Regions from separate parts of the Homo sapiens genome. Here regions 1, 2, 4, 5, 6 and 7 are each linked to region 3. Evidence: promoter capture Hi-C in 16 types of primary human blood cells and fetal thymus (Javierre and others, 2016). All regions are on one chromosome and are shown on one strand. The core of a region is centred on a gene start or on the middle of the fragment in contact, and the rest is flanking DNA. Distances in the headings are between cores, read along the strand shown.

What was found. Contacts are between HindIII fragments. The CHiCAGO score rates a contact against its expected background, and 5 or more counts as called.
Region 1: a fragment that was not itself captured here is called in contact with the fragment with the promoter of FMR1-AS1 in region 3 in 1 of 17 cell types (neutrophils); the score reaches 5.9 in neutrophils.
Region 2: a contact is called between a fragment that was not itself captured here and the fragment with the promoter of FMR1-AS1 in region 3, in 1 of 17 cell types (total B cells). The highest score is 7.1, in total B cells.
Region 4: a fragment that was not itself captured here is called in contact with the fragment with the promoter of FMR1-AS1 in region 3 in 4 of 17 cell types (non-activated CD4 T cells, total CD8 T cells, activated CD4 T cells and 1 more); the score reaches 6.1 in non-activated CD4 T cells.
Region 5: a fragment that was not itself captured here is called in contact with the fragment with the promoter of FMR1-AS1 in region 3 in 1 of 17 cell types (activated CD4 T cells); the score reaches 5.6 in activated CD4 T cells.
Region 6: a contact is called between the fragment with the promoter of MTMR1 here and the fragment with the promoter of FMR1-AS1 in region 3, in 3 of 17 cell types (total CD8 T cells, non-activated CD4 T cells and total B cells). The highest score is 11.5, in total CD8 T cells.
Region 7: a fragment that was not itself captured here is called in contact with the fragment with the promoter of FMR1-AS1 in region 3 in 2 of 17 cell types (total CD8 T cells and activated CD4 T cells); the score reaches 7.7 in total CD8 T cells.

Annotation. Positions count from the first base shown.
Region 1 is chrX:150,712,521-150,715,519 of GRCh38, reverse strand. All of the region lies in intron 3 of MTMR1 (myotubularin related protein 1), which reads right to left. Among named protein-coding and RNA genes, the nearest start is that of MTMR1, 21 kb to the right of the region's middle. The HindIII fragment of the contact is 1,118 bases long and covers 904-2,021 here.
Region 2 is chrX:150,560,443-150,563,716 of GRCh38, reverse strand. It overlaps a transcript of MTM1 not described here. Among named protein-coding and RNA genes, the nearest start is that of MTM1, 6.5 kb to the left of the region's middle. The HindIII fragment of the contact is 1,819 bases long and covers 773-2,591 here.
Region 3 is chrX:147,910,310-147,913,551 of GRCh38, reverse strand. FMR1-AS1 (FMR1 antisense RNA 1) reads left to right here and starts at 1,735. Exons shown (of 2, transcript NR_024503.3): 1 at 1,735-1,910; 2 at 2,557-3,242. FMR1 (fragile X messenger ribonucleoprotein 1) reads right to left here and starts at 1,633. Exons shown (of 17, transcript NM_002024.6): 1 at 1,322-1,633. The coding sequence starts at 1,372. RefSeq lists enhancers at 1,213-1,312, 1,893-2,102 and a silencer at 1,473-1,812. The HindIII fragment of the contact is 5,224 bases long and covers 1-3,242 here.
Region 4 is chrX:150,904,141-150,907,382 of GRCh38, reverse strand. No RefSeq gene overlaps it. Among named protein-coding and RNA genes, the nearest start is that of CD99L2, 7.1 kb to the right of the region's middle. The HindIII fragment of the contact is 489 bases long and covers 1,645-2,133 here.
Region 5 is chrX:150,357,255-150,360,280 of GRCh38, reverse strand. No RefSeq gene overlaps it. Among named protein-coding and RNA genes, the nearest start is that of MAMLD1, 4.5 kb to the left of the region's middle. The HindIII fragment of the contact is 903 bases long and covers 1,002-1,904 here.
Region 6 is chrX:150,691,468-150,694,755 of GRCh38, reverse strand. MTMR1 (myotubularin related protein 1) reads right to left here and starts at 1,360. Exons shown (of 16, transcript NM_001306144.3): 1 at 1,080-1,360. The coding sequence starts at 1,225. RefSeq lists an enhancer at 1-16 and silencers at 910-1,049, 1,360-1,429. The HindIII fragment of the contact is 7,697 bases long and covers 1-3,288 here.
Region 7 is chrX:149,951,608-149,954,578 of GRCh38, reverse strand. All of the region lies in intron 7 of EOLA2-DT (EOLA2 divergent transcript), which reads right to left. Among named protein-coding and RNA genes, the nearest start is that of EOLA2-DT, 15 kb to the right of the region's middle. The HindIII fragment of the contact is 3,193 bases long and covers 121-2,971 here.

The DNA.
Region 1 (2,999 bases), core at 213-2,712, 2.8 Mb before region 3:
GATTTATCCAACCCATGTTCAGCACAATCAAAGGATGGAATATTCTTATGAACTAAATTTGATTTCATAAACACACCCATTCCTCTTGGTGCCATGGCTCAAAGTGTTGCCCAGCTGGGGAATTCCCTCTGATGACCTCATCCCAACTTTGTTCCAGTGACCCTGAAGGTCTAGCCGAAGTCTGCCAGCTCCCTGAATTTGTTCCTGAGGGCTCCAGCCCACCCAACAACCCTGGCCTCTCCGCTACTTTTCTCCTCAGCCTGAATCCAAGCCGCCAGGTGGATAGTTTATATAATGGTTGCATGCCAAAAGCAGTGGCTTTCAAACTGGGCTCTTCAAGTTGCTTCCAGGGTCACCAAAGGAGAGTGGGGCTGGATGATGGTGGACAATGGTGCAGCTGAGCACCTGGGGCATGCCACACATCCCTGGAGCTGCTCTTCTCTTTGTTTCACATAAGCATTGGGGAAAGTACTGCAGCTTTAAAAGACTCCAGAGAGGGTCTAGAGGTACTGAGCAGAGTAAGCACTCAAGAATACTCTATGAATAATTTTGTATTCTGATTAATATATGTACCAATTCCACAAATATCTACATGGTACCAGGTACTGTGTTGGGCATAGATCATGCATATTTGAAGAAAGCAAAGTGTGCACCCTCAAGGAGCACCCTTAGCATATGTATCTGTCCCCTCTATGTCTATGTAAAGGCACTGCAGAATCCTACCGTGATGGAGGGTCATTAACCCCATCAATAACCCTATCTGGGCAAACCAAGAAACACAGACAAACAAATTTCTAGTTGACAAAATGTTGGATAAACCAATTTTTGCAAATAATGTCATATGGAATCTACCAAATTTGGACAGGAGGGCACTACTATTGTGGTAGAGGCATCTGGAAAGCTTTGCTTATTATCTAGAAGTCTAGAATGAAATGGCTTCTAAATACACGATCTGTAGCTACAAACAGATGAACACGTAGAACTTGCCACCTGATCAGCTTCAGCTTCAGAAGGGTAGCCATTGTGTTCTTCCTGAATCTCCTGCACAGCACCAGGTGCATGGACAAGAAAAGGCAAAGAGGAGAAAGAGAAACACGTGCAAACAGACAGGTGAAAGGACAGAATTTCTTTTTTAAGGAGACAGTAAGCATGTAAAAGTCGACACACCTTTCATGACTTTGCAAATCACAACATTTTCCCCCTTGGAGTTAAGGAAATAACATGTAGGCCATCTATAGCATCCACAGCCTAAAATGGAGTATCTATTCTGTGTTTGTGTTGGGGTAGAAAAATGAAAAGCAAACAAACATCATGGATTTCAAAGAATGTACTGTCTTTTCAAAACCAAGCAATAGACAGCATATAGCAAAGAAACAAAATAACAGGCACATAATGTGCTCACAGAAAATAAAGCATACCACAGAAAACTGGTAAAGGGCAAAGTCAAGCCAAAATACAAAGGCAGTTTATAGACATGTATTTTAAACACAGTAAGTATTCATATTACATTGCTCAGGGATCAATTCCACTGCACACATGCATATATCACATGCTGGAGATTATATATATATGTGTATGTGTGTGTGTGTGTGTGTGTGTGTGTATACACACATATATATACATGTCTGTTTCTTATTGCTTATTGCTAATTAAATTCTGTGATTTATAACTCAATATCATATTAAATATTTCTAATTACTCTATCAACGCACTTCCAAGAAACAGCTAAAAGGCCACACATCTTTAATTTTTTCCAATCCCTTTAAAGGTATACTGTTCTTAATTTCTTTATAGAATCTATTATTTTTTGAAACTTTAAAAATTGGGCTTTTTATTCAGCAGCTGGTAAAAAAGAATATGAATACTGAAGATGACAAGATTGTAATCTCTTTTTAAAATTCTATCAAGTCTCCGAGGCTAAAAATATTAAAATTTAGCCTATATATATTTTTGCTTCATGAAACTTTGGTTGCAATGATTATCGTTTTTACAAAGGCAACCAGTGAAGAACTAGTAAAGCTTTAAAAGAATTTACTATTTCCCACCTTCCATTTTTGTCAATAAAGTACAATAACTCCTTAATGTACTTTTATATTTTATCATCAGATTGAATTTAGTACACAGTTGGTATAGTTTAGCATACTTCAAGGCAGTGTAATTTTTCAGTGCAGCCAGTTTTTTGAAATTTCCATTTTTTAAATATAAAGAAAATCGAGTAATTAAGTTTTTAGAAACAGAAAACTCAATGAACAAAAAATACAACATTTCAAAGTTCATGCAAGTGTAAAGCCAAGCACTAATATTTAACAGTGTGAATCAATGAAAGAAAATGATTCCCACAAGCAAAAGAAAACATGATGAAAACAAGACTAAACAAAGGAAAACCAGCTAGAATAACAAGACTTAGCTTGCTTATTTTTGTACTACTTCATTGGCTTCAATAAGATTAAAACTTTTAAACTGAAGTTATTATACTATCAAAATCCACATTGTTTTCCTTGAATAGAAATAGGTTAATTTTCAATGTCTGTTAAATGCATGCACATTACCAATCTTTGTCTTGCTTTATGAATGTTCTGAAATAAAGGGAAGGAAAATCATGAGGAAAATATAAGCTGTAACCCACTATATCTGTATTTTAAAAAATAGTAACTGGGATTGATTTTGCTAAATTTAGCTTCAAGATTAGCACTTCTGCTTTTTTGGATTCAACATGCAAACACAAACATGACTTGAAATCTTACTTAGATAGGACAGCCAACTAACCTTTTTTTTTTTAGTTGCTAAATTCTGTAGCATGAATTACACAATAAACAAGATTAAAAGAGACCTCAGTAGCCCCAGCCTTATAACCCCAGTCATGAATATCCATTTGGTCATAATTCATGTAGTACAACAAAAGTCAGTATTGCACACTGGTAACAATTTTAGCATCCCGCCCTCACACACATTGGCTTTTATTGCACATGAAAACATTGTAACAAATAAAGCGTTTCTAG
Region 2 (3,274 bases), core at 433-2,932, 2.7 Mb before region 3:
ACGGGGTTTCACCATGTTGGCCAGGCTGGTCTTGAACTCCTGACCTCAGGTGATCCACCTGCCACAGCTTCCCAAAGTGCTGGGATTACAGGCGTGAGCCATCGTGCCCGGCCCAATAAAGCTGAGATTTAATCCCAGCACTTTGGGAGGCCGAGGCAAGCAGATCACGAGGTCAGGAGTTCAAGACCAGCCTAACCAACGTGGTGAAACCCCGTCTCTACTAAAAATACAAAAATTAGCCAGGTGTGGTGGCACGTGCCTGTAGTCCCAGCTACTCAGGAGACTGAGTCAGGAGAATCGCTTGAACCCGGAAGGCAGAGGTTGCAGTGAGCCAAGATCACTGCACTGCACTCCAGCCTGGGTGACAAAGCAAGACTCTGTCTCAAAAAAAAAAAAAAAAAAAAAAAAAAAGCTGAGATTTAAGCATGGGAAGAAGACAAGAAGACATAGCCTCAGTTAAGATTCCTAAGGCTGCCCAGAATTGTCTATCTCTTTTTGGTTGGTTGGTGGGTTGGTTGTTTTCTAAGAGGACTGGGGTCTTGAAGGGGAGAGAGTGGTGATGCTTGCCGTGAAAATAACAAGGATGTGCTACCCAGTCTGTTCACCATCACAATCAAGAAATAGAACATTTCTATCATTCCCGAAGCAGGAGAAGACAGAGCCCAGCCTAATGGGGGCAGGACAGAGAGAGCTTACCTGGATGCAGGAGACCTGGGATCTACATCCCAGACAGAGAGAGCATTACCCTTGTGGGCCCCAGGGATCAGAAGCTTCCCCCAGCTTCTCTCTGGGAGCTGCCAGTGATCTGCAGGCACATGTGCAGTGGGGCTCCAGGAGACCGTGAAAGCCAACCTGTACACTCTGCTCCTGGGCAGACGAGACTGCTATTGCTTCTCACTGGTATTTTGCTTCCACTTTCTCACAGAGCTCAATGTTAAGTTGGAGCCTCCTTGAGGAGGCCCCGCTGGTCAGCAGGTTCTATTTTGCCAGGTGCTAGATGGAAGTTTGAGCCAAGTAATGGGACATGAAAACACATACAGAGAGAAACCCAGGTTCTTTGTCTCAGGGCTTCTTGGACACCGGGGCCAGCACAAAGGGCTTATGGTCATGACATCACAATGTTTCCAAGTGCCAGTCCTGTTTGCTTCCTTCATCACTAGGCACATATAGGGTATTCACCGAGGACTTTGAAGTCTAGTCCACAGGCAACACCATGACAAAATTGCCCCAGTCAGATCACAAATAAAACTAAACCCAACTCACAAGATCCTCTCCTTCTACCCCCAATTACAAAGACTTAAATAAGATAAAAATAAAAGAAACCTCAGTTGTTACACTAAATAACTTTTAAGAAAGTAAGCCCTATGAGGAAATGTTTCACGATACAGTCAAGTGTGTTTTACTCAAAACAGGCTTTTTAAAAAGAGCTTTATCTTTTATTTGAAGGGCCTGATTCATGTTGAGGTGTGTAGTATGCTACTTCTCAAACACAGATTTGTAGACCCAAGATTAAAACCAAGAGAGAATATATGAGAAGGGAAAAAATAAAAGATTAAAAAAACCTGAGGTCGGGTTCAGCGGCTCATGCCTGTAATCCCAACACTTTAGGAGACCAAGGCAGGTGGATCAGTTGAGGTCCCACTTGAGGTTTGAGACCAGTCTGGCCAACATGGTGAAACCTCGTCTCCACTAAAAATACAAAAATTAGCCAGGTGTGGTGGCAGGTGCCTGTAATCCCAGCTACTTGGGAGGCTGAGGCAGGAGAATCGCTTGAACCCAGGAGGTAGAGGCTGCCGTGAGCCGAGATTGCACCACCGCACTCCAGCCTGGGTGACAGAGTGAGACTGCCTCAAAAAACAAAAACAAAAACAAAACTGAATGTCAGCAAATATTTGCTGAACCTGAACGAAATTGTGTTATTTAAGATTAATTAAAATGAATAAAATAGGAATAAACTTAATCAAGGAGGCAAAAGACTTTTACAATGAAAACTGCAAAATATTGCTAAAATAAATTAGACACAAATAAATGGAAAGACAGCTGTGTTCAGGGATTAGAAGACTCAATATTGTTAACATGTAAATACATTCCAAAGTGATCCACAAATTCAATGTAGTCGCTATCAAAATCTCAACAGCAGAGATATTTTATTTTTAGACTAGAAAAATACATCATAAAATTCACATGAAAATCAAGGGGCCCCAAATAGCCAAAACAATCTTGAAAAAGAAGAATGAAGTTGGAGATCTCACATTTCCTGATTTCAAAACCTTACAAACCTATAGTAATCAAAATAGTGTGATACTGGCATAAAGACAGACATTTATACCAATGGGATAGAATAAAGAGACCAGACAGAAACCTTAAAATATATGGTCAAATGATTTTCAGACAAAGGTGCCAAGACCATTCAATGGGGAGAGGGCATCTTTTCAACAAATGCTGTTGGGAAAACCAGATATCCACATGCAAAAGAATGAAGTTAGACCCTAACCATACACCATATACAAAAATTAACTGGAAATGGATGAAAGATCCAAATGTAAGAGCTAAAACTATAAAACTTTCAGCAGAAAACACAGGGGAAAGCTTCTTGACAGGATTTGGCAATCATTTTTTAGCTATGACACCAAAAGCACAGCAACAAATGTAAAGTAGATAAATGAAGTACATCAAAATTTAAAACTTCTGTGCGTCAAAAGAAACAAAAGAGTGAAAATGCAACCTAAAGAATGTAAGAAAATATTTGCAAATCACATATCTGATGAAGGATTAATATCCAGAATATATAAAGAACCCCGGCTGGGTGTGGTGGCTCACGCCTGTAATCCCAGCACTTTGGGAGACCGAGGCGGGCGGATCACGAGGCCAGGAGATCGAGACCATCCTGGCTAACACGGTGAAACTCCGTCTCTACTAAAAATACAAAAAATTAGCCGGGTGTGGTGGCGGGTGCCTGTAGTCCCAGCTACTCGGGAGGGTGAGGCAGGAGAATGGCGTGAACCCGGGAGGCGGAGCTTGCCATGAGCTGAGATCACGCCACTGTCCTCCAGCCTGGGCGACAGATCGAGACTCAGTCTCAAAAAAAAAAAAAAAAGAACCCCTACAAGTCAACAACAAAAAACTCCATTAAAATAGGGAAATGCAAATCAAAACCGCAATGAGATATCAGCTCACACCCATTAGGATAGCTACTATTTTTAAAAAACACAAGCCAGGTGTGATGGCTCATACCTGTAAACCCAGCATTTTGGGAGGCCAAGCCGGGAGAATT
Region 3 (3,242 bases), core at 486-2,985:
ATTTTCCTATAGCCAAACGTGTCCTGTCTGAAACATTCAAGCCATTCTACAATACATTTAAGAATTGTGTTGGACACTGCTAATAGCTATTTTCCAGCCTTCCTTCCACACGCACCTTCTATTGCCAAAATACTGTAGTAAGGTGGGATATTATTGAAAGAGGTTATAGACATTCAAAAGGAAATGAGAATTTATAGATGAATTTATACAGCACCTACATACCAACAAACGCACTACTGCTACATCAAATTTGTAAATCTTCCTTTTAAAACTGAAAGGTGTTAGTTGATCTGCAATGGTGTAACTTTAAAAAGCACAGTAAACCCATGAATGCCTATATAAAGCCTCAACAATTCAGTCCACTGCAACACCACAAATTCAAAGGAAATGTGGTCAAGTTCTTAGGGGCACAAAAATATTTTCGCTCAGTTAAAAAAAAAATGCCCTAGTAATAATATACTCTCAGTTAATTACCTGAAGTTTCATGGCATATATTTAGGTCTTTGGAAACTTAAACACACACACACAATTTTTAAGTAGCAGCGCTGCTAATGGTTTTAGACGCTGAAGCATGTGCATTCCTGAATTTACCCCGTTTAACAAAAAGGGGGACGCGAATATTCACGATGATCAACTTCTTCAATGCACTGCTGGGCCATGTTAGGGTCTTCCTGAAACTTTTGGATCTAAAATCTCCTCCGAAATCCACAAAGAGAAGCCACTAAAAATCAGTTGCCATTGTGATTTGGTGCCGACTACCGCTTCTTACTACTCTTTCTTCACAGCCCTCGCCCAGAACAGTGGAGCTCTCCGAAGTCCCAATGCTAGACCGGAAAAGAGAAGCCAAAGGAGACCTGAAGCCCTCTTGGCGCTGCAGGAGGCGGCCCGGCTGAAGCGCCCCCCGCTCCTCCACAACTACCCACACGACAGGCCCGGATCCCGCTGGGAGATGATGTTTAGGAAAGGGGGAATAAGCCATCGCCGTCACTTAGCGCCGATTTCGGCCCTTCCCGCCCGGCTCTAGTACCTGCCGCCGGCCCTCGCCCATCCCCAGCTCACCCCGGCGGGGCTCGGCGCCGAAAGAGAACCCTCTCCTCGCTGGTCTCTCATTTCGATAGGCGCTAGGGCCTCTCGGAGTCGGAGAGGGGCTTCCAACAGGCCCCAAGTCCAGTCCTTCCCTCCCAACAACATCCCGCCGAGCGTGCCCTGGCACCCAGGCGCGGTGCTCGGGAAGAGGGCCCCGGGCCTGCCTCCCGCCGACACCAAGAAGAAAAGGGAGGGAAGGAAGGGCGAAGATGGGGCCTGCCCTAGAGCCAAGTACCTTGTAGAAAGCGCCATTGGAGCCCCGCACTTCCACCACCAGCTCCTCCATCTTCTCTTCAGCCCTGCTAGCGCCGGGAGCCCGCCCCCGAGAGGTGGGCTGCGGGCGCTCGAGGCCCAGCCGCCGCCGCCGCCGCCGCCGCCGCCGCCTCCGCCGCCGCCGCCGCCGCCGCCGCCGCCGCGCTGCCGCACGCCCCCTGGCAGCGGCGCCTCCGTCACCGCCGCCGCCCGCGCTCGCCGTCGGCCCGCCGCCCGCTCAGAGGCGGCCCTCCACCGGAAGTGAAACCGAAACGGAGCTGAGCGCCTGACTGAGGCCGAACCCCCGGCCCGCTGCGGGTGTAAACACTGAAACCACGTCACGTGATCAACGCTGTTCCCTCCCCCCGCGGGCTCAGCCCCTCGGCCCCGCCCTCTCTCTTCAAGTGGCCTGGGAGCGCGCGCATGCGCGCTGCTGGGAACCGGCCGGGGTGCCGGGTCGAAAGACAGACGCGCGGGCCGGGCGTGCGCGGGCTTGGTGGAGGGCGGGAAGGCTGAAGGGCGGTGACAGGTCGCACTGCCTCGCGAGGGCCAGAACGCCCATTTCTGCAGAGGTGCACTCAGTGGCGTGGGAAATCAAATGCATCCGGTTATCCCAGTTCGGCCTCTCTGGGATTCCGCGGGAGGGGGTGTCTGGTCTGGTTTGGTTTGGTTTGGTTTGGTTTGGTTTGGTCCGGTTCAAAGTAGCGCAGTCTGACTGAGCGGGAGGTGGAGTGGAAGGCGAGAATAGGGGTGAAGGATTAGACAGAAGAAGACTTTGAACTAGGAACAGTGGCAACCAGGGTGACCCAGGCTTTTGTGACCCGTAGAGGCAGAAGGTGAGGCGTCTACGCCCTCTCTCACCAGATTTTGGGCGGCCCTGTGGAGACACCCTGTGCCCTTTAAGGGACATGGATTGAGTCGGGATCTCAAAATGTGAGCCTTTCCTCAGACCCAGCTTTGACCCACGTACTCGCCTTTCCTCAACTCATTTTCATACTTTCACTTGACTATATATTTTTTAAAAATTGTGTTAAGCACTTGAGGTTCATTTCTGCCCCTACTGTATGTGCACCCTGTGCCAGAGGGTGGGGTGAACACGTGTGTAGCAGTCATGCGTCCTGTCCACAGGGGCCGATGCACCTCCTTGCAACCCTTTACATTCCACTGTGAAACAAACCTCAACTTTTTCTTATTCCTGTTTTTACACCGTGCTTATAGCTGCCTTAATCCATGTTCCCTTCGGGATGCTGGTATCCAACTGAGAAGTTGACGGAGCATCTATCGTGTGCCAGACACTGTGCTAAGTGCTAACGAGAAATCGGTGAGCAAAACAGAAAAGAAAAAAAAAGAAGAAACGACTGCCAGCATTGAACTTAGTACCTAGCAAAGTAGGTGGACATAAATCAAATTGTCAGACAAGTAAATGAGTAGTTGCAGCTGTGATAAGGGGTATGAAGAATAGGCGCTTCCATGATGGCGGAACATGACCTAGTCTGGGGTGGAGAAGGGGAGATGATTCCAGCTGGAATATGGCAGGTGAGAGTTAACTAATAGCACTGAGTTGGCAGAGGCAGGATGACCTGCCCCAGGCAGGTGCCCCAGAATGAGAGGATGTTGCTGCTGGTGGAACTCCAGCTTTAAAGCGGTGGATCTAGGGCCACATTCCTCAAGGCCATAGCAAACAGGAAAGACCTTTTGGACTAGGGTCTTTGGAGTAGTCACATGAGGCCAAGAACCCAATAGGGCTGAAAGAGAATCTCATCATAGGCTGAATGGGAGCAGAGCATTAGCTGCAACTCCAATGTATTATAGTAAAAGGGGACACATTGATTAGAATGATTATACCCCTCCAAGTGTAAGCTGTTGTTCAATTTACCCAGGGCTTAAAAATATGTCAACTCTTC
Region 4 (3,242 bases), core at 640-3,139, 3.0 Mb before region 3:
TGCTCGATACTGTGATCATCAGAGAGCTTGAAACCTTAGAGATAGTCTTATCCAACCAACTCAGTTTACAGAATTTAAAAAAAAACAAGCCCCAGGGAAGAAGAGTGACTTGCCCACAGCCACGAAGTGATCTACTAATACCTCCCCTGTCCCACTGACATCCAAATGAGAGAGGGAAAGTGCCTTAGCTGCTGAACACTGGAACCCACAGATCCACCCCCAGTAGTACTTCCCCAAGCTCCAGAGAGGCAGCCCTGGAAAAGAGTGGGTTTCCAGCAGTCAAGTTGAAGAAAGTATTTCAGGCAGTAGAGAGTGATCAACCATGCCCACCACTGCTGAAAGATCTAGTAACAAGAGGACTGAGAGTGGACAAAGGTAGGGGCCAGCAAACTTTTTCTGTAAAGGACCAGATAGTGAATATTCAGCTTTGAGGGCCATACAATCTGTTGCCTCTCCTCGACTCTGACCTGGTAGCACACAAGCAGTTATAGACAGTATGTAAACAAGTGGGTGTGACTGCGTGCCAATAACACTCTACGGATACTGAAACTTTTTTGTTTTGTTTTTTTGTTTTTTGGTTACAGGGTCTCACTCTGCTGTCCAGCCTGGAGTGTAGTGGCGTGATCGTGGCTCCCTGCAGTCTTGACCTCCGGGGCTCAAGTCATTCTCCTGCCTCAGCCTCCCAAGTAGCTGGGGCTACAGGTGCACACCACCATGCCTGGCTAACTTTTTATTTTTTGTAGAGATGAGATCTTGCTATGTTGCCTAGGCTGGTGTGGAATTCTTGGGCTCAAGTGATCCTCCCACCTTGGCCTCTCAACTTAAATACTAAAAAGTAAATGTCACATCATTTTCATGTGTCACAAAATATTCTTCGTTTTTATTTTTCTCAACCGTTCTTTGTTTAGGGGTCACATGAAAACAGGCAGTGGGCGGGACTTGGCCCACTGGCCTTAGTTTGCCCAGCCATGGTCTCAGCTTTTAGATGGATAGGAATGCCTTATCCTACCTCAGGCCAAGTACATTGAAAACTTGGAGAGTAGAGCCCTGGCAAACGTGGTTTTCAAAGCTTCCCTGATACCCAGCAATTCATGTGTATACCCGAGAGAAATAAAAACACATGTCCACCAAAAAGCTTGTATGTACATCCGTGTTCATAGCAGCATTGCTCACAATAGCCCCAAATTGGAAACAACCCAAATATCTGTCTACTGATGAATGGATCAACAAAATGTGGTATTATTATACAATTGAATAGTATTCAGCCATAAAAGACATGAAATTCTGATACATAGTAGAACATGAACGAGCCTCAAAAACATTACGCTCAGCAAAAGAAGCCAGACACAAAAGGCCACATAGTGTATGGTTCCATTTATACAAAATGTCCACAATAGGCAAAATCCATAAAGACAGAAAGATTAGTGGTTGCCCGGGGCTGGGGGAGGGCTAATGGGGAGTGACTGCTTAATGCGTCTGGGATTTCCTTTTGGGGTGATGGGAATGTTCTAGAACTAGATGGAGGTGATAGTTGCACAATATTGCAAATGTAGTAAATGCCACTAAATTGTACACATTTAAAGGTTAATTTTATATTATATGAATTTTACCTCAATTTAAATGAAAAAAAAAAAAAAAAAAGCTTCCTCAAAGATTCTGTCATGCTGCTAGGGTTGAGAAACAGGACCAGTGTGAGGAGACAGCAAATTGCAAAGCAAGTTGAACTCACATCTGGATTCAAAGCTCAGTGTTAAGGTGGACTCAGCATAGGGTCTGTGAGGGTAGAAGGCATGGGTCCTGAGCCTTTCCTAGGCTGGGAACAGTATGTTCTTTTATGGCATGAGGGATAAACTGGGAACGGCCAGGTGAAGGAAGGAAGGGAAGTTATTCCAGACAGGTGGAGTGGTGGGGTCAGGGAGGTGACGGTTGTGGGGCGGGAGGCAGTGTAGAAGGGAAGCTGGAATGAGTTGAAGAATTAAATAGGGAGGCAGGGGCCTGATCAGATCATGTGGGGCTGTGTAGACCATGAACAGAAATTTGGATTTACTGTGAGTGAGATGGAAGGCCTGGGACATGAGACTAGAGGGTTTTAAGCAAGGGAACAACATGATCTGATTTACTTTTTAAGAAGCTTCCCGTGGTTGCTGGGTAAAAAAAACGGGCTGGAGGAGGCTGTTGTGCAGTTATTCAGGGCAGGGATGAGTGTACACATTCAAGACTTTAGGAGACACAGTTCTCAGGATTTGGTAATGGAGTGAGTGAGACCAGGGGAGGGGGGAACTTCTGCCTCCAAGGTTTAGGCCCTAGCAACTGGGAGATTGGTGGTGCCATTTACTAAGATAGGAGAACACTTGTGGGAGGAGCAGAGTGGTTTGGAGGCCAGCAATGGGCAGTTCTGTTTTGGACATCGCAATATGTCTGCAAAAGTTATTTTTGAACAAAATGTTATTGCTGTTAATTGGATGCCCCATTCCACATTTGTGTTCCGAAACATTTTCTGGGAGGTTTCTTGGGCTGCTTCAATTATATGAAAAGACTTAATTCAAAGAGACCAAATGTTGGTTTCTGTGGTTTGAGTCCCCTGAGTGCTTAGGGGAGACTTCACTGGGTAAGTTAAATACAGCCCTACTCTGCATTTGGGAGGCAAATGTTAAGTCCCGTTCCTACAGAGGTCAGGGTTTGGAGGAGAAAATACTGCCTCGGAAATATTACAGAGACATACGTTATTTCTTGCCAAGTGCTTATGCAAATTCCATATTAACTCGACTGAGCACTAGAAAGAAATTTACAGAGCAGTCTCTCACATTAGGAAAACATGCAGGTATAAGGTTTTGCCCTGCCTGACTTGGCACACACAGGCTTCCTGAAGATGGCTGGGTGTTCTGCATTTAGATTTCCAAGGAAGAGGACGCCTTCCCGTGATAATGAGCCTTAAAACGAAGTCGTGACCCACCGGCCTTTGGCATCGTCTTCTTTTCTTTTGGGATCATAGTCACCATGGCCATAATTGCCAATATCATCACTATCGTGTGGTCGTTGGTGTGTTAAGAAAATTCCTCAAACCACCAATGGGAATCCTAACAGGAATCAAAAAAGATGAGATGATTCCTATCTCATTGAAATTTGTTGCATTACATTACAGAGGGTCCCCTTTGGGAGTGAGCAACTCTGCTGCATGTAAGACAGGAGTGATTGGTGGTGGTGGTGGTGGTAGGGGGTGCTGCTCTGCAGAAACATGGCAA
Region 5 (3,026 bases), core at 204-2,703, 2.4 Mb before region 3:
ACCTCCCAACTCTTCCTCAACACATAGATACATTCCTGCTTTACTTAGGACTTTTGCTTTAGCTGTTCCCTTGGGCTGGAATTCACTTCCCCAAGATATCTATGGGCTGGCTCCCTCATTTCCTTTAGTCTTGACACAAATGTCACCTGGCCACCCTATGTAACATTTCAAAGCCCCACGCCCATCTCTGGCACTTCCTCTCTCCTTCCCAGCTTTGTTTTCTCTTTAGCGCTTACCGCTAGCTGACCTCCTCTATAGGTTAGATCCCAAGAGGGTAGCAGTCAGCGTCTGTTTTGTTCACTGCTGTCTTCCCAGCTCCCAGCACGGTGCCTGGCATGGAGTATCTGTTCAATGAATGTTAGTAGATTCTGCTTTCCTGGAACTTTTCAGGAAACTCTGGGGGCCACTGCACTGTACACACCCACTGGAAAAGGGGCCCATAGATGTCATCACATTTGAAGGTGGTTCATGACCTAAACAAAGGTTAAGAAGGCTAGAGGGCAGGCAAAGAGCTTTGTGTTAATGACATGAAACCAGCTTCGGGTCATGTCACCAAGGGGCAGTGTGGCACACATGCATTGGTGGCAGTCTTACAGGCAGTCACAAAGGTACAGAGAGTGATTCCTTCAGTTACTGGTGGAAAGAGGTTTCCTTGTGGTTGTCACCTAGGGTATCCCAAGGTTGATGGACAAATGGGAGAGGAGGCCGGAGACAGAGGCAGGGTGAGGGCTTTCTCTTCACTGAGTAGACTGGCTCTGAGAGCCAGGGCCCTTTTTTCACCCAAAATGCAAGACCAAGTCTGGAGCTCAGCAGCACATCTTCCTCCATTAACGTAGAACTAGCCTGTGCTTTACGTGCAGGGTCCGTGTCCCCAGTGAGGTGTTGATCATTATCTCCATGTTCTAAATGAGGAAATCAGACACTCAGAGAGGTAGAGGCACATATCCAGGGGCACACAACCCATGAGTGGTAGAGCAGTAAAGCAATTGGGCCTCAAAGCTTGGGCCATTTCCACTTGCTATGTGGCCACCCATGTTTAGTGTGTGCAGTCCTGGCCTGTGGGTCCAGGCAAGGAAAAGAATACCATGGGGTTTCAAGGAGCTGTCCTCCTAGGGGAACTCCTGGTCCTTTTGCTGAGTGGTTGCTAAACAAAAAGCTGGGCTTAGGCTATTGGGGTCCAGAGATACCATGCCGGGGCTGATATGAGCCCTGTCTTTGCTCTGACCCAAACCTGGAGCTCAATGGATTTGAAAAATACAATCATCAGCCACCTGTCATTTATAGTCATATTCTTGTGAACAGATGGCAAGTTTTCCCAAGTTCATCTGACAAATACTGGGACTTAACTGGGCAGCCTCTGGAATTCTGGGTGTGGCCTGCGCAGGTAGGGGCGCATGGAGAACACACATGTTGACTGGAAAGAGGAAATACACATCCAGTGACTCTATTTCTCATTACTCCCATGCTCAAAAGCCTCCTGCGGCTTTCTACTGCTGACAGCACTAAATCCCAACATCTCAGCTTGACATGCAAGGCCCTTCATAGTGAGCACCAGTCTCTGTTTACTTCTAGATTCTTCTCTTGGTACTTTCACACATGCACCTGGGTCTCCTGCTTGGCTGGACTGCTGACTGGACACCTAACAATTCCTGGTTCTTCCCACTTCTGCCCCTTTGCTCATATATTCCCCATGCCAGCTCTCCTTTCAAAATCTTGCCTGGGTTGAGCACAGTGTATCACGCCTGCAATCCCAGCACTTTGGGGAGCCAAAGAGGGAGAATCGTCTGAGCCCAGGAGTTCGAGGCAAGCCTGGGCAAGAAAGTGAGATCCCATCTCTATATATATAAAAAAAATCCTGCCTGGCCTTCAAGGCTCATCTCAAAGGCCTTCTCCTCAATGAAGCTTGTCCTGAGTCCCATCACAGCACAGGTGCCCTCCCTCCTTTGGACATCCTCAGCCCTAGCTGTCCTTTTCTGACACCGTAGGCCTTTGTCCTCAGCTCTTCCTTGTTTCACAGTTTAACAGTGCTTTTTGGGGTTTCCCCAAAGCCTCCCTGATGGACCCATGGCTAATCCTCAGCTGCAGTGGGTGTGTGTGTTGGGGGGTGTTCAGGGTACCCTCTGGATGGCAGAATATGAATCCAGAGAGAGAAAGTGAGATGATGGATGTGGCCAGCACCTTCTGGCATCCCCCACTTCACCTCTAATGCTCAGAGGCCATTAGCCAATGCCCAACTGGAGGCCACCACGTCCACCTGCTCCCTTGGCTCCCAGCCCCCTACACCCATGCCTCACTCAGCCAGGCAGATGCCACACCCCAGGCCCTCAGCAAAGCCAGAGACCCCCACCCCCAGGCTCTTGAGCTCTAGGCTCCTGGGGCATTGGCTCAGGGCTTGTGGACTCCTCATCTGCACAGAGTCCTAGCCCCAGGGAACCTGAGTTCTCTGACCACAGCTTGCTGGAAGCCACAACCAACAGGAACACAGGAATGAGGACGGACAAGTGCCCTTGGGAAGGCCTTGGGTGACGACTACCCCATGCAGAGGAAGTGCAGTGAACTTGATCTGGGAGGCAAAAGGCACTGGTGTACACCCAGATTCTGCTGTCTCCCAGCTGTACAACCTCCTGAGCCTCACAGGTCTCATTTCCAAAATGGAGTCACAGTAGTAACGGCCTTATTGGTGTGTAGTCAGGGTTTTAGTTCTGTCATGGACAGGACCACCCTAGTCAAGGTGTCTACCCCATGAGTCATTAGCCCTCAGAGAAGAGGATGCTATCGTGATTGTTATCCTACATACCCTAAAAGACAAGAGGCAGCCAGCCTTGAACCTAATCAAATGAAAAGTATTCGGACAAAAGCTCAGGTCTTGCATGTACGTTCAAAACATCTTGTGATATTGAACACTCTGCAAGTGCTTGATATGTCTGGCAAAAAAAAAGATGAGTCTGTGCCAGGTAAGGAAACAGATTGGGGCACTCACAGAGGACACATCGGCATTTTGCCCCGGTGGGGCAGAGGAGAGCCAC
Region 6 (3,288 bases), core at 111-2,610, 2.8 Mb before region 3:
TTGAATATTTGCAGATGAGTGAAGTCCTCACCATTTCAAGTGCTGTCTTAGCTGTGACTGGTTTTCAGTGACACTAACCACTTGGGTGATTAATTTATTAAAATATATTGTAATTACACTGAGGTAGAAACAAAAGTGAAGGGAATGTTTCTTGTTTCTGTGCTTTTGGAAACTCCCAAAAGTTTGGCACAATGGGATGACCAAGACAGGCAGGAATGGGCATGTAAAACTGACTGAGCTACATTCCAACAGTGCATGCTGCCTGAGTGCACTCTGGTGTCAGGGAAATGGCCAAGTTGTGGGAAAACTGGATGTTCCGGGTTACACGATAGGCCATCTCTTGTCGTCGGAGGAGGCGGTGGCCCCTCCCAGTTCGACACGGTCACTTTATGTTTCTAACTGATTTCTCTTAGTTCTGCAGCTGCCTCAGAAGCAGTAGGCTTGCTTGTGTGTTCATGAAAACAATAAACTGGTTCCCTCAAAGTGTGAAGAACTGAAAGTAAATGGTTCTGTTTTCTTGCCTCCTGAGCAGTTTGGACGTTTTCCATCTCAGATTTTTGCCTCGATCTGCACCAGCTCCCACGCCCGCGGGGTCCCATCTCCCCGTCCTCACTCCCAACCCCCCATCAAAGACCCTAAGCAGCCACAGCAGAATTGGGGTCTTAAAACCACACGAGGCAAGGTGATGCTAGAAGAGGAGAGCCCGGGTGGGATCTCCCTCCCAAGAGGATTGGTGGCCTGGGCAGGGACAGCCAAGCGATCGCCAAGGGCAGCAGGTGGCGGCGCCGGAAGTGGTTTGACAGCTGCGAAGCCCCTCCCGGGGTTCCAGGAGCTGGGGCTCTCGGGGCGGAAGTGAGCCAGGTGCGCGGCCCGCAGCAGGTCCGAGGGCAGCAGTCCCCGGATGGGGCGCTGAGGTTTCCGGGGGTGGGGGGGAGGAGGGCCCAGAGGGGATGAAGAGGGGCCGCCCACCCCGCCACCGCCAGGCCCTGCGCAGCGCGCGGGGAGGGGGCGGGCTGGCCTCGCGCGGGGCCCTCGGGAGTCGGGGCGCGGGAGGCCGGGGCAGCCCGGGCCCCGCTTACCTGTCCAGGGTCTCCACGCTGGGCTGCCGGGAGCCGGCGGTGGCGCCCCCCGCGGCCCGAGGAGGCCTCCTGCCGCCCGCCGGCCCCGGGTTCGGGCCCCCGCCGCCCTCGCAGCCCGCCGCCGCCGCCGCCGCCGGCCTGTCCATGGCGCGCCGAGTCCTGCCGCCTTGGGGAAGCCGCCGTCGGGACGGGAGCGGCGGCCGGGAAGGTTTCGCTGCTTGCCTCCTGCCGCCCGCTCTATACCGCCCGCCCGCCTCAGGCGGCCGCCGCCATTAGCTGTCACCTGGCGGCCCCGCGTTACCCACAAGGCCGCGCGCGCGGGGGTCGGGGGGCGGGAGCGGGGGCGGGGAGGGCGGCGCGCGGGGCCGGCGCCGGGAACCCCCACCTCGCCCAGCCCCACCTGGGCGCTCGCCCACGGAGCCTTACAGCGGGGATCTGGGACCTCCTGCTCCAGCGACCTGGGTGCGTACAGAGCCACTGGGGTTCGGAATCCCCAAACGGATTATGCGTAGCGTGCTTCACTCTATAGTCACACCGGGTTGACTGCAGAGACGTGGGGTGTAAAAAGAAGTTTGAAGACATTCAAGTATCAAAAATGATTTCCCACCTCAGTTGTCCTTCCCGGAAAAGGTATAGAACAGCTCAAGCTCCCTCGGTCTTGACATCTTGAAGCAGGAGCAATTCCGTGCATTTTAGCAATTCCTCCCCACCCCATTCTTCCCTCCACTCTCCCCCTCCATACGCACCCCGCCGCCCCGCCACAAACCCACCCCCTTGCCATCTGTAGGGCAACCAAGTGTTCTGATGCCGCCCTCGGAGCTTCCGCCCATGGTTTATGTTAAGAGTAACATTTAACTTCTGTTGATTAAAAAATCACTGCTATGAACATCAAGCCAATATCTTGGTGAGGCATTTAGGACATTTGCTTTCTGGGCTAGATTTATTTCCTTGCTCATTTTGTTTGGGTTCGAATATCCAACAGCTCATCCCCTCTCACCTCACCCCTGATTAAGTTGGGAGTGGGTGTGTGGCTCGTGATTAAGCCTCTTTGCCTGTGATTGCTCTGGGTGTAGACAGGAGGCCTGCGACCCAGGTCTGGAAAAGAAGATATAAAGGGAACAATTTGCTCACTGTTAAAAGGCAGATCTGCAGACAGGGAGTTACTCATGCCCATCCCAGACCCATCCTGCCCCACCAGCTTAATAACTTCAAACTGAACTTTGAGGATATGATGCCTGAAGCCCCGACAGCCATCTTACGCACAAGAGGAGGTGAGCCTGGGGTAAGAAGATGACAGAGTGAGGAGGGCTAGGAGGAAGGAAAGGAAGATCCCCAGACAATAATAGCTCCTATCTCACACTGGAGAATCACCGACTGCAGGTTGCTGGCTTTCTAAAATTATTAAATCAAATGGTTAACCCACTGTTATGGACTGAATGTTTTCATCCCCCTGAAGTCCATATGTTGAAGCCCTAATTCCCTGTGTGATGGTATTTGGAGATGGGGTCTTTGAGAGGCAATTAGGTCATGAGGGCCAAGCTCTAGTCTGATGGAACTGGTGCTTTTTAAGAAGGGTCACCAGAGAGCTTGATCTCATGCACTCACATGCACACACTGAGAAAAGGCCGTGTGAGTACACAGCAAGAAGGTGGCCATCTGCAAGCCAGGAACAGAGCCCTTACTAGGTCCCTGCTGGACACTTAATCTTGGACTTTCCAGCCTCCAGAGTTGTGAGAAAATTTCTGTTGTTTAAGCCACCCAGTCTATGGTATTTTGTTTTGGCAGCCTAAGCACACTAAGACACCCACTTTTAGTTGGGTATTTTGTTACAAGTAGCTGCAAGCATCTTAGCTGTGCTGAGAATTGTCAGAAAGAAAACAGTGCAACTTTAAGCATATTTTAAGTACCATATTCTTTAAGAAACATTAGGCCAAAGAGGAATTCACTGTGACACTGTCATACTTCCAATTCAGTTAAGTACACTTAGGATTTAGAGGACAGAGATGAATCTGACATATCCCTGCCTAAGATGTTCACAATCCAGTGAAGGGGACAGACAAATTAACAATGACATTACAAGTTGGCAAGTGCTATAATGGGGACAATTGCACAGGATGTGGAACACCTACCCCAATCCATAGGAGAAGAGGAGGTCAGGAAAACTTCCCCAAAAAGGTGACATAAAACTGAATCTTTAAAGATGAGTAAA
Region 7 (2,971 bases), core at 468-2,967, 2.0 Mb before region 3:
TTTTCTGATACTAATATTGTACCATAGTTAGGCAAGATGTTAACATTGGGGAAGGGTGAGTGAAGGGAATACAATTCTTTGCAACTTCCTTTAAATCTATAATTATTTCCAAATAAAGCTTTTAAAATTAACCATAAGAAAACAAGCAACCCAATATTTTGAATGGACGAGAATATAAACAGAAAATTTACCACAGAAGTTAGATGGATGGCAAATAAGCATGTTAAAAGATGTTCAACATTAATAATCATTAGAGAAATGCAAATTATAACCAGAAAGAGATACCACTATACACCTTAGAGTGGCAAAACAAAACAAAAACACACACAGAAAAACTAGCAGTACCAGGTGCTGGCAAGAATGTGGAACAACTGGAACTCTCAAGCCCTCCTAGTGGGAATGCAAAATGGTATAGCCACTCAGCAAAAGTTTGACAAGTTCTCAAAAAGAACTATAACCCAGCAATTTACCAAGTAACCCAGCAATCCCACTCCTATTTACTCAAAAGAAATAAAAACTATGTTCACACAAACCCTGTACACAAATGTTTATAACAATGTATCCATAATAGAGAAAAAATGGAAACAAACCAAGTATCCCTCAACTATAGGACTCATAAACAAAATGTGATACATCTATACAATGGAATATGACCCAGCAATAAAAAGCAATGAACTTCTGGACTGGGTGCAGTGGCTCACGCCTGTCATCCCAGCACTTTGGGAGGCAGAGGCAGGTGCATCACTTGAGGCCAGGAGTTCGAGACCAGCCTGGTCAACATGGCGAAACCTTGTCTCTACTAAAAATATAAAAATTAGCCAGGCGCAATGGTGCACGCCTGTAGTTCCAGCTACTTGGGAGGTTGAGGCATGAGAATCCCTTGAATGTGGGAGGCAGGGGTTGCAGTGGGCTGAGATCACACCACTGCACTCCAGCCTGGGCAAGAGAGTCAGACTATCACACACACACACAAAGGAATGAACTACTGAAAACACAACAACATAGTTAAATCTCAAAAGCATTTTGCTACCTGAAAGAAGCTACATCCAAAAGGTTACAACCATATCATTCTGTTTCTTTGATAATCTGGAAAACTATGGGAATGGAAATTAGATCAGTGGCTGCCAGGGTTGAGAATGGAGAAGGGGATGAATGCCAAGAGGCGGTACAAAGCAATTTCTGAGGTGATGGAATTGTTTGGTAACTTTAGTGATGGCATTAGGCAAAAGCCATAAAACGGTACACCACACCAGTTTGCACTGTGTAAAAAAATAAGTAAACATGCCAAAAAAGGATCCCCCTGCATACCCACCTAAGTGACAACATGTGCTGTCAAGGACGGAGAGCAAATGGAACTCACACATTGCTGGTGGTAATGTAAATTGCTACAGCCGCTTTAAAAATCTGTTTTTCAATATCTGCTAAAATTAAACATATGCATATCCCATAAATCATCAATTTTACCTCTAGACATGTACATAACAGTAATACATATTCACCAAAGAAAGTAAATCCAAGCATGTTCATAGCAGCTTTGCTTGTATTACAAAAACCTGGGAACAATTCCAGTATGTACAAATAGCAGAATGGGTAAATATATCATGGTATACTGATAAAAATGGAATAGTATATGGCAATGAGAATAAAGTATTGCTGACATGACAACATGGATGAATCTCACAAGCAATATTTAATATAAAAATCCAGACAGTAATAAGATTACGCAGTGTACGATCTCATTTATATAAAGTAATAAAAAATGTTGCAAAATAGCGATTACCTTTGGGCAGAAGTAGTGACTTGGAGGGTATTACAAAGAGGTCCTAGCGGTGTTCTATTTTGTGATTTAAGTGCTGGCTATCTTGTTAAGTTGTGAATGTTCATCAGTGCATTCACTTAATATTTGGGCATGTTTTCTGTTTGCAAATTATACTTCCATTAAAAATGTTTTAGGCCAGGCATGGTAGCTCATGCCTGTAATCTCAGCACTTTGGGAGGCTAAGGCAGGAGGATTGCTTGAGGACAGGAATTTCAGACCAGCCTGGGCAACATAGTGAGATCTCATCTTTAAAAAAAATTTTTTTTTAATTTGCTGGGTGTGCTGGTGCATGCCTGTGGTCCTAGCTACTAAGGAGGCGGAGGTGGGAGGATCACTTGAGCCCGGAAGTCAAGGCTGCAGAAAGCTATGATCACATCACTGCACTCCAGCCTGAGTGACAAAGTGAAACCCTGTTTCAAAAAAAAAGTTTAAGAACTTTTAAATGTATGCTTCATTTTCTCTTCTTTTTAAAATTTAGGCTTGCTTATATAGCCAATTGCTAAAAATCTGTAACTAAAACCAAGACTACAGTAGCTCAATGCATAGAAGTTAAAGATAGATAAGGCAATTTTGTAACCTCGCCTTTTACTTTCTGTTTGTTGGCTTTTACATTACTTCAAAATTGTTAAGGAGTAATAAATGCCTGTCCACGTCCATTCCTGTCTGGCCTAGAACATTTAAACTGTCTATAAGTCTTTTGGCTGTAAGTCTCTTGGCCATAGAGATCCTACCAAGGGACAGGATGGACCTGGGGCAGGCAGCCAAACCACCTCCACAATGCTATGGGACAAAATAAAAGTTTGTCCATTGATGTTGCCTCTGGCAAATCCTGGCCAGAAGGAAAGAATGTAAACCAAAAATAAAATTCTAAGCTCCCCAACCACCTGAATGGACCCCTCCTCTTGGCCAAGGGCATTCCAAAGTTAACCTGAAAAACTAGTTCAGGACATGATGAGGAAGGGGGAGTCGGACATGCCTCATTACCATCAACATGAACACTGTCCTTAAGACTGATACAATAGACTCTTTAAGTCTAATAAGAAACATTTACAATCTATTCTCTCTGAAGCCTGCTACCTGGAGGTTTCATCTGCATGATAAAACTGTGGTCTCCACAACTCCTTATCGTAAACCAGACATTCCCTTCTAATG